Linked DNA regions of Homo sapiens: region 1 is linked to region 2. The links are contacts of gene promoters, found by promoter capture Hi-C in blood cells and fetal thymus (Javierre and others, 2016). All regions are on one chromosome and are shown on one strand. Each heading gives the region's core, a stretch centred on a gene start or on the middle of the fragment in contact. The rest is flanking DNA. Distances are from core to core; before and after follow the strand shown. Region 1 holds the start of CBLN3 (cerebellin 3 precursor). Region 2 holds the start of RNASE6 (ribonuclease A family member 6).

Region 1 (6,123 bases), core at 3,624-6,123, 3.6 Mb after region 2:
CAGTAAGGAAGGCTGCCCTGCTTATACTTTGCTTTTGATCTTGTGAAACCCTGAGCAGAGAAGCCAGTCACGTTTTGTTGGACTTCTGACCCACAGAAACTGTGAGGTAATAAACAGTTGTTTTAAGCCACCAAGTTGGTAGTACTTTGTGGCCAGATGTGGTAGCTCACACCTGTAATCAGATCACGTGAGGCCAGGAGTTTGATACCAGCCTGGACAACATGGCGAAACCCCATCTTTACTAAAAATACAAAAAATTAGCTGGGTGTGGTGGCTCGCACCTGTAATCCCAGCTACTCGGGAGGCTGAGGCATGAGCATTGCTTGAACCCAGGAGGTGGAGGTTGCAGTGAGCTGAAATTGCACCACTGCACTCCGGCCTGGTCGACAGAGCATGACTCTGCCTCAAAAAACAACAATAAAAAACAACTTCTAGTTGTCTTCCCCAATAGCTAATTTCCCCTTCTTCCTTGTTATAAAACTCCCAACTTCTGGCTGGACATGGCTGCCTGGAATAAACACTGTAGCTCCTAGCCAAGCTCCCTGGCTTGGTGAGCCCGGGTGACTAAATTCTACTGAGACACAATCAGAAATATTGGTGCATATTTCAGAAAGCTTCTTTCAAGGAAAGAGATGTGTTGTTTCTTCCTTCCTCCTTCCTGTTAGGCTGATGTAATGTCTGGAGCTCAGGGAGCCGTCTTGGGTCATGAGGTGGCAAGCTAAGGATGGTAGAACAAGACAGAAGACTGGGCTTTCAAATGATCATAAGGCTGCCATCCATCCCTGGACTCTTATTTACAGATTTTTCTATGTGAGACAAAAATGATTTCCTATTTTGTTTAAGCTATTCTTATTTTGGGTTTTACTGTTACAGCCAAACCTACTCTTAATCATTTTGCCTAATTAATATCTCATTATAATTAGTGGGGTAATACAGAGGATCCATTTTCTAGGAGATGAACGATCAAGCCTGAGCAGTGAACAGTTGTCTTTTGGACATCTGACTAATCCATTGTCTTATAACACGCCATTGGACTGTTTTTCTTCTTAGTTGCAAAATATACTCAAATAGTTCCACCAGTATCTTTCATTCTTGGCACAGTGCCAGATCTTCTTGGAATTATTCACAGTTCTCTGTACTCACCCCTCCCTACTTACATAGATAAAGAAAAACAAATGTACCTTGCAAATAGACAAAATGCCTACTATATTTATGTTCTTGTACTTATCACGACTCACTAAAAATAGCCTATATTCACTCTTCTTCACTCAGCATATTAACTACTTTTTGTCACACTTTATAGTGACTTCTTCCTTTTTGAATATCATTGCAGGTACATGGATTTAAAAAATTCACCTTGTTCCAATTAACTGTATTATTTTCCTTTTGATAATCAAATTGTCAAAGCATGTCAAGTGGGAGCTTCTTTAAATTGATTCCTTTGCCTTTTCAGCTTTACTTTATACATTTAAAAAGTATCTTTGCTTTCTGTCATCAACAACATGTTCTGGGCCTGGAGTTACTTAAGGTGTGCAGCTATTCTCCAAGGAACCTGAGGGTTTTTGGTATTTTTTTTTAATGGTGACTAATATCTGAAGCAAAGATCCAGTTTCTAAGAATGGATATCAGATTGTTCCTGATGTTGTTTTTAGGATTAGTGACAGTTCAAAAAGTTATTTCTTTTCAAAACCACAAATTCACCTTGGTATTTCCTATTTAACTCAAACATTATTCAACTTTTAAAATGTAATTTTAGTATACAGTTTGATATTTATTTTCCTCTGCAACATACCTACTTGTACCTGTAACACCCGATCCAAACTCCAGAGGCATCTTCTCCTTAGTAATTCTATAGTGTCTCACTGACCACCATTCTCTAGTTGTTTTATTGATAGATTCATCCAGGCTGGGCCAATGGGACAGCGGGATAAGAAAGAGAGAGGGAGGGTTTAGCATACTGGCAGGAGAGGGTCTGAAGGAATGAATCATGGAATCCCAGGTAATAGGAAGCCTAAGGAGGAGAATAAGACAGCACAGATCAGGAGAAAGAGAGATAGTGGGGATATGCTGGAACAGGTACAGTGAAGATAACTCAGTGAGAGAGCTGGGAGGAAGGAGGCAGCAGTCAGAGTGTGGAGGGACTAAAGTTCAAACTTCAAAGGTGGAGCAGTTTCAGGAGGTGGCCAAGCAAGAGGATGCATGGTTATCGATGTTTTCCATGGTCCACTTCCAGCTCTGTATACCTGCTCTCAGCTCTGCTCTCAGCCAGAGCAAACACACTCACCCTAATCTCAGGTGGGGAGGTAAGGGCCAGAGTCCATCTGGGATCCAGCATAGAAGGACAGCCAGGATTGCTACCTGCTGGCTGCTCTGCTATACATGCAGAATGTGTACCATGTTCAGTCTAGACAATACACCCTCCTTCCTTCCTCACCAGCCACAGACTCCAGGCCCTTCCCACCCTTCTGCCTGTGGCTGAGCCTCCCACCCTAGCCCATACGGTGCTGGTTCAGCTTCTGACGGTGCTGGCTGAGATCCGTGATGCTGGCTTTCCTCACAGGAAGAAGCCTGCAGGGTACGCTGAGGCTTGTCCATCTGGGCTCCTGTGGGGGCCTGTCAGGCTCACCTGCGCCACCTGTCCCTGATCAGCATTGAGCAGGAAGCTGGGGTGGGGGAACCGGAGGAGCAGAGGCCGCAAAGTAGTGCAGATCTTCCTTCTTGCCAAACCTTGCCCTGATCCTAGGGCTGCAGGCAGGAACAGATGCAGCAGGTGGCTGGGAGGGTAACTGGGGGTGGGTGGGTGGAAAGGCCTGGTCTGGAGATGCCACAGCTCTACTCTTCTCTTAAACTTGGGTGTTTGGCACAGGGTCCCATGCAAAGAGGTGGGATAGGAGCCAGAGGGAGTCTCTCTCCTGCCTCTGCTGTTTCTGGGGCAAGAGAGGGCAGAAGAAAGTTGTCAGGGGCTGGATTCTTGTGCTTGAAAGACTTGGGTCCTCAGAGAGGGAAGATGAGGAAGCCAGAGAAACTTGAGTATTTCCAACCACCCAGTAGATTCCCCCGACGCAGGCGCAGAGACACTCGGTCCCCAGGGTCCAAGGGCAGTAGCACAGAGCTGGTGGCTGCCTCCCGGGTCACGTCAGGATCATTGGCAAAGGCTGAGATGACAGGCCACGTGTTCAGCATCAGGCTCACCTGGGGAGGGGAGCCCAGTTAGCCCCCATTCCCCAGCCCTTAGCTCAGGACCCCCCACTTTCCCAGGAGCTTCCTCTTGGGAAGCTGGGTTTTAATGGGCTCTCCCGGGAGGGCTGAGGGGCGGCCAGCATTGGACTCTGCACATCCTCCACACTCAATGCAAGGCAGGCCCATTCCTCCCCTGGTCCTGGCCTCCAGGACACAGGTCAATGGAGAGTCCACCCGGAGGTCAGCTGGGCTCCCCTTCTTCCCCCTCCCCACCCTCCTGAGCCGGGGATGGGGGCCAGTGCTGAGGTCACCTGGACAGTTTGGCGGTTGTACACCTTCACCACATGGAACCGGAAGCTGTAGACACCCCGGACAGGGGCTACGAAGGAGCCAGAGGCCCGGTCAAAGCCACCGCCCTCGTTCACCAGGACCTGGGGGAAGCAGAGCCTGCTGAGTGGGGCTCAGGAAATGCCCATGGCTCAGGGGTACCATGGGGACTAGGGGCAGGGGCAGTGAGTAATGAATAGAAGGAGTGGCAAGTAGGAGTGAATAGGAGTGAACAGATTCAAAAGAAATGGTGAGAAGGGGCAAGGAGAGGGCTGCGTATGGGTGGAGGGAGGGGAAACCGTCGGTGGGGTGGTGGGGCAATAGGCCAGATTAGTGAAAGATGTAGGAAGCTGTTTTCTTAAAGCCTCAGAGACAGCAAAGTGGGCTTGGACAGTTGCTTCCAGGTCCTTGCAGGGTCTTTCCAGGTCCCCTGGACAGGGGTAGGGGGATTACCTGGTCGAAGTAGATGGCCCCACTGGTGCCATTGCCGGTTTCCCCTGCTGGCTCATGGTGGTGGCTTCGGACCGCAGCAAATGCCACTCGCCCAGGGGGTGCCTCTCCCAGGGCTGCTCCCCCGGGCCCCCCTGCAGCAGCTCGGCCAGGCTCACAGACCACCAGGCACTCCCCCTCCAGCAGGACGGGCTCTGACCCCTCCTGGGCCCACCCGGCCCCCAGGGCCAGAAGCACCAGAACCAAGGGCAGCCCGGGACTGTGTAGGGGACCTGGTAGCCAGTGTGGCTTGGCTCCCAACATGGCTGAGGGGCTCTGCAACCCACAAGTGCCCCGGTCTTCTGCCCCTCTTCTGTTTCCGCTCCTCTCCCTGGATTCTCACCGCCGGCACCCTGATCGTCTGCCCTCTCTAGGCTCGCTGAACCCCCTCTCCATACCTGTGTCCCAGCTCTGTCCTGCCTCCCACTCTTACTCCTGCTGTCACTGCAGTTCCCTCCTCCTTGGCAGAGCATGCAGTGACAGCAGTTGGGCTTTGGGAGAGAAAGGAGGGATGAAGCCGCCTGCCCACTGGACGGGAGGGCTGCAGCCAGAGCTTCAGGGCAGCCCTGCTGGATGGGACAGCACTGAGGGCTGGACCTGGGGGGATGGAGAACATGGTATGTGTGTGTGACGGGTGTGACAGAATGTGTGAGTGTGTGCATATGCCAGAGGCAGCCCCTCAACCCCTTCCTCCTACTCTTCCTCTCTTCAAAATCCCCCACAAATCAACAGCCCTTCTTCGTGGCATCTTTCCGTTTGTTGGAAGAAAGGGGTACTCCACCACGGGTACCCTCCGCCTCCCGCCTCCCGCCTACCCCCTCCGCCACGATTGCTTTGGTGGAAAGTGCTTGGGCCTAGAGCACCAGTGGGCCAGTCACGCTGCCTCTTTGGTCGGCCACATCTTTATTCGCGGGAAACAACTTTCAACGCATGGTTCCCCTTTCCGAGAAGTAACTGCGCAGAATGCGCGAGGACCCTGAGGGCCGGGAGACAGACGGGAGGGCTGGTGAGAAGCGCAAGGGGCGAGCCCTGGAGCCGCCGAGGGGACTAGGCCGAGCGGGCCCGTCGGGGCCTCTGGGCGCGGCGGCGGGGTTGGGAGGAGGGCGCGCAGCCGGGAGGAGCTGGGCTGACTCCGCCCCAGGCCAGGAAGTGACTCAAGAAACAGTTTGCGTGCGATGTGGACAAGAGAGGTCCCCGCTGGGTGAGGAACCCGGGAAGGCCCGCCCAGATTCGGGCCCCCTGCCCTTGTCCCCTGGGCTGGGGGCGCGGGCAAAGCGGGGGCCTGGCGGGCGCTGAGAGGACCTGAAGCCGGCGCGGGCGGCGGAGGCGGTAGGCGCGCCCCTCCACCGCGCCCGGGAGCGGGGAGCGGGGGCCGCGGTGCGGAGTAGGCCCGGCCCGGGGTGGCTGCCCCAGTCCGCGGTGGGCGGGCCCGGCCCGGCCCGGCCCCTGGGCCCTGGGCGGTGCTCCTGGCCCGACGGAGAGGGGCAGCGGACGGCTGGGGGAGGGGTGGGAGTGGCTTGAACCTTGGAAATGGCAGACCAGGGCCCCCAGAGGACAGCCTAGTTCAATCCCCTGCTGAGGATTCGTCCTTAAGAAGCTTCAGAGTGCCCCAGGAGACTCCTTCTGGCCTCCAGGCCGAGCTGGAGCCCCCCCACCCTTCTTGCTCCGGACTGTGGTCATCCTTTTCCAAAGCCCAGACGCCCACTCTCGATAGACAGCCTTGTTTACCGGGACTTCCTCTCCGGAGAGGCCTGCGTGACATACACCCTCCCTACCTCCAGTGGACTCAGATGCTTGTCACCTCCTGGGGCTGTTTACCAGAGCCTTAACTAGGTGCGACCTGTTGATAGCTGGTGTAGTCCCAGGAACCAGGATTTGGATGGAGGGTACAATGAGGCTCTGAGCTGCCTTCTCCCCTTCCAGGGCTGGGGGCAGCAGCCATGCCTACCTGGGGGGCCCGCCCCGCGTCCCCAGATCGCTTTGCGGTGTCTGCGGAGGCTGAGAACAAGGTTCGGGAACAGCAGCCCCATGTGGAGCGCATCTTCAGCGTGGGGGTGAGCGTCCTTCCGAAGGACTGTCCGGACAACCCCCACATCTGGCTGCAGCTGGAGGGCCCCAAGGAAAACG
Region 2 (5,747 bases), core at 292-2,791:
ATTGTGCTGAATCTATAGATCAAGTTGAGAGGAAATGACATCTTAACATATTGAGTATTCCTACTCATGTACATGGAATATCTGTGCTTCCTCAATTTCTTTCATTAGAGTTTTAAATTTTTCCTCATACCAATTTTTACATAATGTATTAGATTTACACCTAAGTATTTCACTTTCTTTGGTGCAATATAAATGGTATTGTGTTTTAAATATCAAATTGCAATTGTTCATTGCTGGTATATAAGAAAGCAACTGACTTTTGTATATTAACCTTGTATCCTGCAACCTTGCTATAAACAGACATTATGTTTATTCTGCAGACATTTGGAGCCATAAAAGCATGGGGCAAGAGTGTTGTACTATTATATCTTGTTCAAAAAAAGACTAATCTGGAAGTAATATGTAGAATGGATTGGAAGGAGAAAAAAACAAGGCAAGGAGTCCATGTGGGAGGCTTTTATGTGAGCCCTCCATAAGACAATGAGTTTCTGAATAAGGGTGTTGCAGTACCAGTGAAAAGGTAAGAACAGATTCAAGAGGCAAATATCCTAAATTCGGCCTTCTTCTTCAGGCTTACAGGTCTTTTCATACACAATTCTGTCTTTGGGAGGCGCTTAACACTCTCTTCACCTAACTTCTAATTATTCCTCAAAATTCAGTTCAGGTGTTGTGCCCTCCAACAATCCTTCCCCTCTACTATCTTCCCGTAGCCTCCTGCAGTGTCCTCCATCACACTGTAAGTGCTATTTATATTAATATAATCTACTTGTCTATATACTTACCTGCCTGTCTCTAATCTCTTTCATTAAATCATGAGCTCCTGGCAGATCACGAGGTCAGGAGATAGAGACCATCCTGGCTAACACAGTGAAACCCCGTCTCTACTAAAAATACAAAAAAATTAGCTGGGCGTGATGGCAGGCACCTGTAGTCCCAGCTACTCGGGAGGCTGAGGCAGGAGAATGGCATGAACCCAGGAGGTGGAGCTTGCAGTGAGCAAAGATCGCACCACTGCACTCCAGCCTGGGCGACAGAGCAAGACTCCGTCTCAAAAAAAAAAAAAAAAAAAACTCATGAGCTCCTGAATTTGTGTAGCCTAGTACCTGGCCCAATAAGTATATGCATAAATGAATAATGTATTCACTTCTGTTGTAGGAACTTACAACATTACCAAGTATGTGGCAGGCATTATATCATATTTATGTGACATATTTTCTCTTAAGAAACAGGAATCATAAAGCTTCAAAAAAAAACACTGAAGCCTCAGATGAGGCAGGAAGCACTCATTCCATATCAGGAAGTGATCAGTTCCTCAAAACTGTGAGTTTTCAGTCATGTTGTTTCTTTAAGTTGGTTTAGCCTTCCTGTATACATGTGATAATGATACTGTTTTAAAGAACAGGTGTGAAAGTCTAAGAGTTTAATCCAGACTCTGCACAAGAAGTTAATCTGCCAAACCCTAGGATTCTCCTTCTGAAAGCTCAGAATATTTCTTCCCCTTCCCTATACACACAGGGCTCGAAGGGTTAGAGAAGAAAGGCAGACAACAGCTTCTGAGCTTTGGACTAATCACAGCCTCTGTTCTCAGCAGGAGCCCCAACACTGAGACCAGGTAAGAAAGAAAGCCTCAGGGCTGGAGCGAGTAGAGCAGTAAAGACGGCTGGGAGGTAGTGGTCAGATAGAGGGTAAATATTTCAGGAGGGAAGAGGGAAGAAACTTTCTGATATGACAGCCATCAAATGCATGAGTACTTGTGAAAGAAAATGGGATATGCCAATCAAAGGAGAGGTCATATTTCTGTTTCCTGGGCTTCAGGTTCTTCATAGAATTGTGAGACTATGTGAGAAAGAAGATTTTAAAGGGAGCTGTAAAATCTTAAAAGGCAAAATAAAAATCTAAATAGTTATGATTAAAAATTTTGCTCTTATTGCTTCTCCTACTATAACTATCTTCTCTCTTTCTACACAGAAAAGATGGTGCTATGCTTTCCTCTTCTTTTACTGCTGCTGGTTCTATGGGGACCAGTGTGTCCACTTCATGCTTGGCCTAAGCGTCTCACCAAGGCTCACTGGTTTGAAATTCAGCATATACAGCCAAGTCCTCTCCAATGCAACAGGGCAATGAGTGGCATCAACAATTATACCCAGCACTGTAAGCATCAAAATACCTTTCTGCATGACTCTTTCCAGAATGTGGCTGCTGTCTGTGATTTGCTCAGCATTGTCTGCAAAAATCGTCGGCACAACTGCCACCAGAGCTCAAAGCCTGTCAACATGACTGACTGCAGACTCACTTCAGGAAAGTATCCCCAGTGCCGCTATAGTGCTGCTGCCCAGTACAAATTCTTCATTGTTGCCTGTGACCCCCCTCAGAAGAGCGATCCCCCCTACAAGTTGGTTCCTGTACACTTAGATAGTATTCTCTAAGGCATCCACTGCATTTCCTTTCATTTGACATAGCTTCTGTTACAATTGCATCCATGTTTTCTTTTCTTTTGTTGATTTTCTTGTTCCCGTAGAAGAAAGAAGAAAGGTGTTTGGAGAATTCGAGTGCCTAGGATGCCAGACCAGAGTTGAGACAAAAAGAAATAAGATTATTTTCTGCTTTGTAGTTCTGTACTTTTCGAGAGAAGGGAATAGGGAAGACAGCAAAGAAAGATTCAGATTTCTAACCCTGCAACTTTTGCCAAGCTTTATTGCCCTGTGTTCACAGCAATAAAACCACTTCCTGCTGCATTCTAATGAGTGTGTGTTTGAGATCCGCTTTCAAAGCATTGTTGACCGGTACTCAGAGGAACACTGTTTTGACTTTAAGTCCCTAGAAAACTTTTGAGGCCTCCCTGGGGCCCCACTTCCTTGCCCACAAGAAAGGACAGCGTTTGGGACTTTGGAGCATTTCTTCAAACTCTGCTCATGACTTTATATATTCCCCTGGAAACCATTGTCTATGCTTAATTGGAGGTAGTACTGATACCTCAAAGACAGTTGATGATAACTCACACATAGATTCTGTCACTGGCAACTGAAGGATCCTATGTCTTTTCTATTTGTTTCCGTTTTTAATCAGATAATGTTTTAAATATAAGGTGATAGTAGTAGTAATAGGGATAATAATCCATTGTAGTAACCTTAGGGTCAATCCTCCATTATTTATTGAAATGGATAAATAGAAAGCATAGATCAAGAAAAAAGCACTAGGCTTGTCGTGGTGGCTCACGCCTGTAATCCCAGCACTTTAGGAGGCTGAGGCAGGTGGATCGTCTGAGGTCAGGAGTTCAAGACCAGCCTGGCCAACATGGTGAAACGCTATCTCTACTAAAGATACAAAAAAAGTAGCTGGGCGTGGTGGCAGTGCCTGTAATCCCAGCTACTCGGGAGGCTGAGGCAGGAGAATCGCTTGAACCCAGGAGGTAGAAGTTGCAGTGAGCAAATATTGTGTCACTGCACTCCAGCCTGGGCAACAGAGTGAGACTCCCATCTCAAAAACAAAAAAAGAAAAAGAGAAAAGCACCAGGAGACCCAATGCAGTGGCTCACACCAGTAATCCCAGCACTTTGGGAGGCCGAGGCAGGCAGACGACTTGAGGCCAAGAGTTTGAGACCAGCCTGGCCAATGTGGTGAAACCCCATCTCTACTAAAAATACAAAAAATTAGCCAGACATGATGGCAGGAGCCTGTAATCCCAGCTAATCAGGAGCCTGAGGCAAGAGAATCGCTTGAACCTGGGAGGCAGAGGCTGTAGTGAGCCGAGATTGCACCACTGCACTCCAGCCTGGGTGACAGAGCGAAACTCCCGTCTCAAAAAAAAAAAAAAAAAAAGGAAAGAAAGAAAGAGAAAAAAGCACTAGGAAACTAAAAACATTCTAGTCCTATGTAAATACTGAAATACCACAGAAGTATTGGGGTTTTGGAACAGAACCTGAACTAAGCCATTTCACAGAAGGAACTTCAGTTTCCTTGTCAACCTCTAGAGTCATTGGGCTAGTGGGCCAGTGTAAATCCCAAGTGCTTTGTACAGTGATGAGTCTTCAAGTAGCAGCCAAAGACAATGAAGTTTTTTTGAAAAGGCTACATATTGTAGTGTCTTCATTACCTGTGCTGCAAATGATTCTTTCCAAGCCAGACTATTAGTTTAATAGATATGCTAACTCAGCTCACCTTCCTTTACGCTACACATTTATGTCATATCTTAGGAACAAAGAATGGAATATGAGGTTTCAGGAGCCTGGATTCCAGGGTGATGACTGATCAAGGGCCCTCCCATTGGGAAGAGATTAGCAGGTCAGGGCAATATGGCACCTAAGAAGGTGGGTACCTTATAGAGGGAATCCTACAGTGGGACTTGAGTGCTCTAACTCAAAGCAGCTTTCAGTTGTATTCAGCTTTAAGCCATGTTGCATTTACATTTTATTGTCTCAGAGTCTTCATGTAAAGTGTGGTGGAATGGCAGGGAGAATCTGTGCTCACGTTTGGTATGAACAAGTATACGAAAGTAGCAGCATCTGAAAGGAAAGGGGTTGAATGGATTTATATGAACATTACCTGGAAATTGCCAGAGATTCTTAAAGGTAATCTAGTAAAACCAAACAACTCAATTGCTCATGCTATTGTTATTTATATAGTAAAGGTATCTCATGGATTGAATACATCTGTGCTGCAAAAATTTTTCAACTGTCAGAAACATTAGGGAACATGAAATGTTACTTAAAATTAGTGAAATAAATTGTGAGGTCTAAAATACTGCAAATATTTTGTAACAAATGGTTAAAAACAAAAATATAATGAGTGCCATCTTTTGAAGAGATTTGCAGCAACAATATCTAATCTTCCCCACCCTCCCATGACAAACCTATCCCCAACAACAATTAGAGTCACTTTTTGTTGCTGATCAAGGAAAAGGCAACAATGAGGGTAACTTTTCAACAATCTATTATGCCCAAACTTTTAGAAGGTATTAGTTCTAAACAAGTGGAATAGACTGGGATGGAATCTCTCATAGATTTATTTTCTTTTCTACATGCAGTTATGTATTGCAGAAGTTCAATACATAATTGCTAAGAAGTTCACTTAGATATATCCCTAGAATATACAGAATGATCCCAAAGCAGGCAAAGCTTAGAAGTGAATTCAGCAGATGTTCTAGCAGCTCTCAACTCTGGCTTCATATTAGATTCACCTGGGAGCTTTTAGAAAAATACCAATGACGGGATCTACTAAATAAATTTTATGAACATTTAATGAACAATTAAATGAATATCTGGGGGTGAGACCTGGGCTCTAATGGATGTTTGTTAAAGATCCCCATGTAATTGTAATGGGCAGCAAATATTGGTAACAACTGTTGATGCAGGGGTAAGCAAACTACATCTGCAGACCTCTGGCCTGCCGCGCCTATTTTATACTGCCTGGAGTAGTGTGGTTTTTACTTTTATTTTTTTTTTTGAGATGGAGTTTGGCTCTGCCGCCCAGGCTGGAGTGCAATGGCTGGATCTCGGCTCACTGCAACCTCCACCTCCTGGATTCAAGCGATTCTCCTGCCTCAGCCGCCTGAGTAGCTGGGATTACCCGCCACCACGCCCAGCTAATTTGTTTGTTTGTTTGTTTGTTTGTTTGTTTGTTTTTTGAGACGGAGTCTCATTCTGTCGCCCAGGTTGGAGTGCAGTGGCGCGATCTCAGTTCACTGCAAGCTCTGCCTGCCGGGTTCACGCCATTCTCCTGCCTCAGCCTCCCGAGTATCTGGGACTACAG

Evidence for each region. The method cuts DNA at HindIII sites, captures the fragments that hold promoters and counts their contacts. A CHiCAGO score of 5 or more calls a contact.
Region 1: a contact is called between the fragment with the promoter of CBLN3 here and the fragment with the promoter of RNASE6 in region 2, in 1 of 17 cell types (M0 macrophages). The highest score is 6.8, in M0 macrophages.

What each region holds. Positions count from the first base shown.
Region 1 is chr14:24,424,795-24,430,917 of GRCh38, forward strand. CBLN3 (cerebellin 3 precursor) reads right to left here and starts at 4,874. Exons shown (of 3, transcript NM_001039771.3): 1 at 3,961-4,874; 2 at 3,492-3,611; 3 at 1,751-3,192. The coding sequence starts at 4,260. The coding sequence ends at 2,995. It overlaps KHNYN (KH and NYN domain containing), which reads left to right and starts at 5,160. Exons shown (of 8, transcript NM_015299.3): 1 at 5,160-5,325; 2 at 5,920-6,123. The coding sequence starts at 5,937. RefSeq lists a silencer at 4,997-5,536 and enhancers at 5,567-5,746, 5,891-6,123. The HindIII fragment of the contact is 4,979 bases long and covers 613-5,591 here.
Region 2 is chr14:20,779,727-20,785,473 of GRCh38, forward strand. It overlaps RNASE6 (ribonuclease A family member 6), which reads left to right and starts at 1,542. Exons shown (of 2, transcript NM_005615.5): 1 at 1,542-1,612; 2 at 1,969-2,741. The coding sequence starts at 1,974. The coding sequence ends at 2,426. The region is part of intron 1 of LOC107984671 (a long non-coding RNA gene); the gene reads right to left. RefSeq lists an enhancer at 2,617-2,686. The HindIII fragment of the contact is 1,450 bases long and covers 1,239-2,688 here.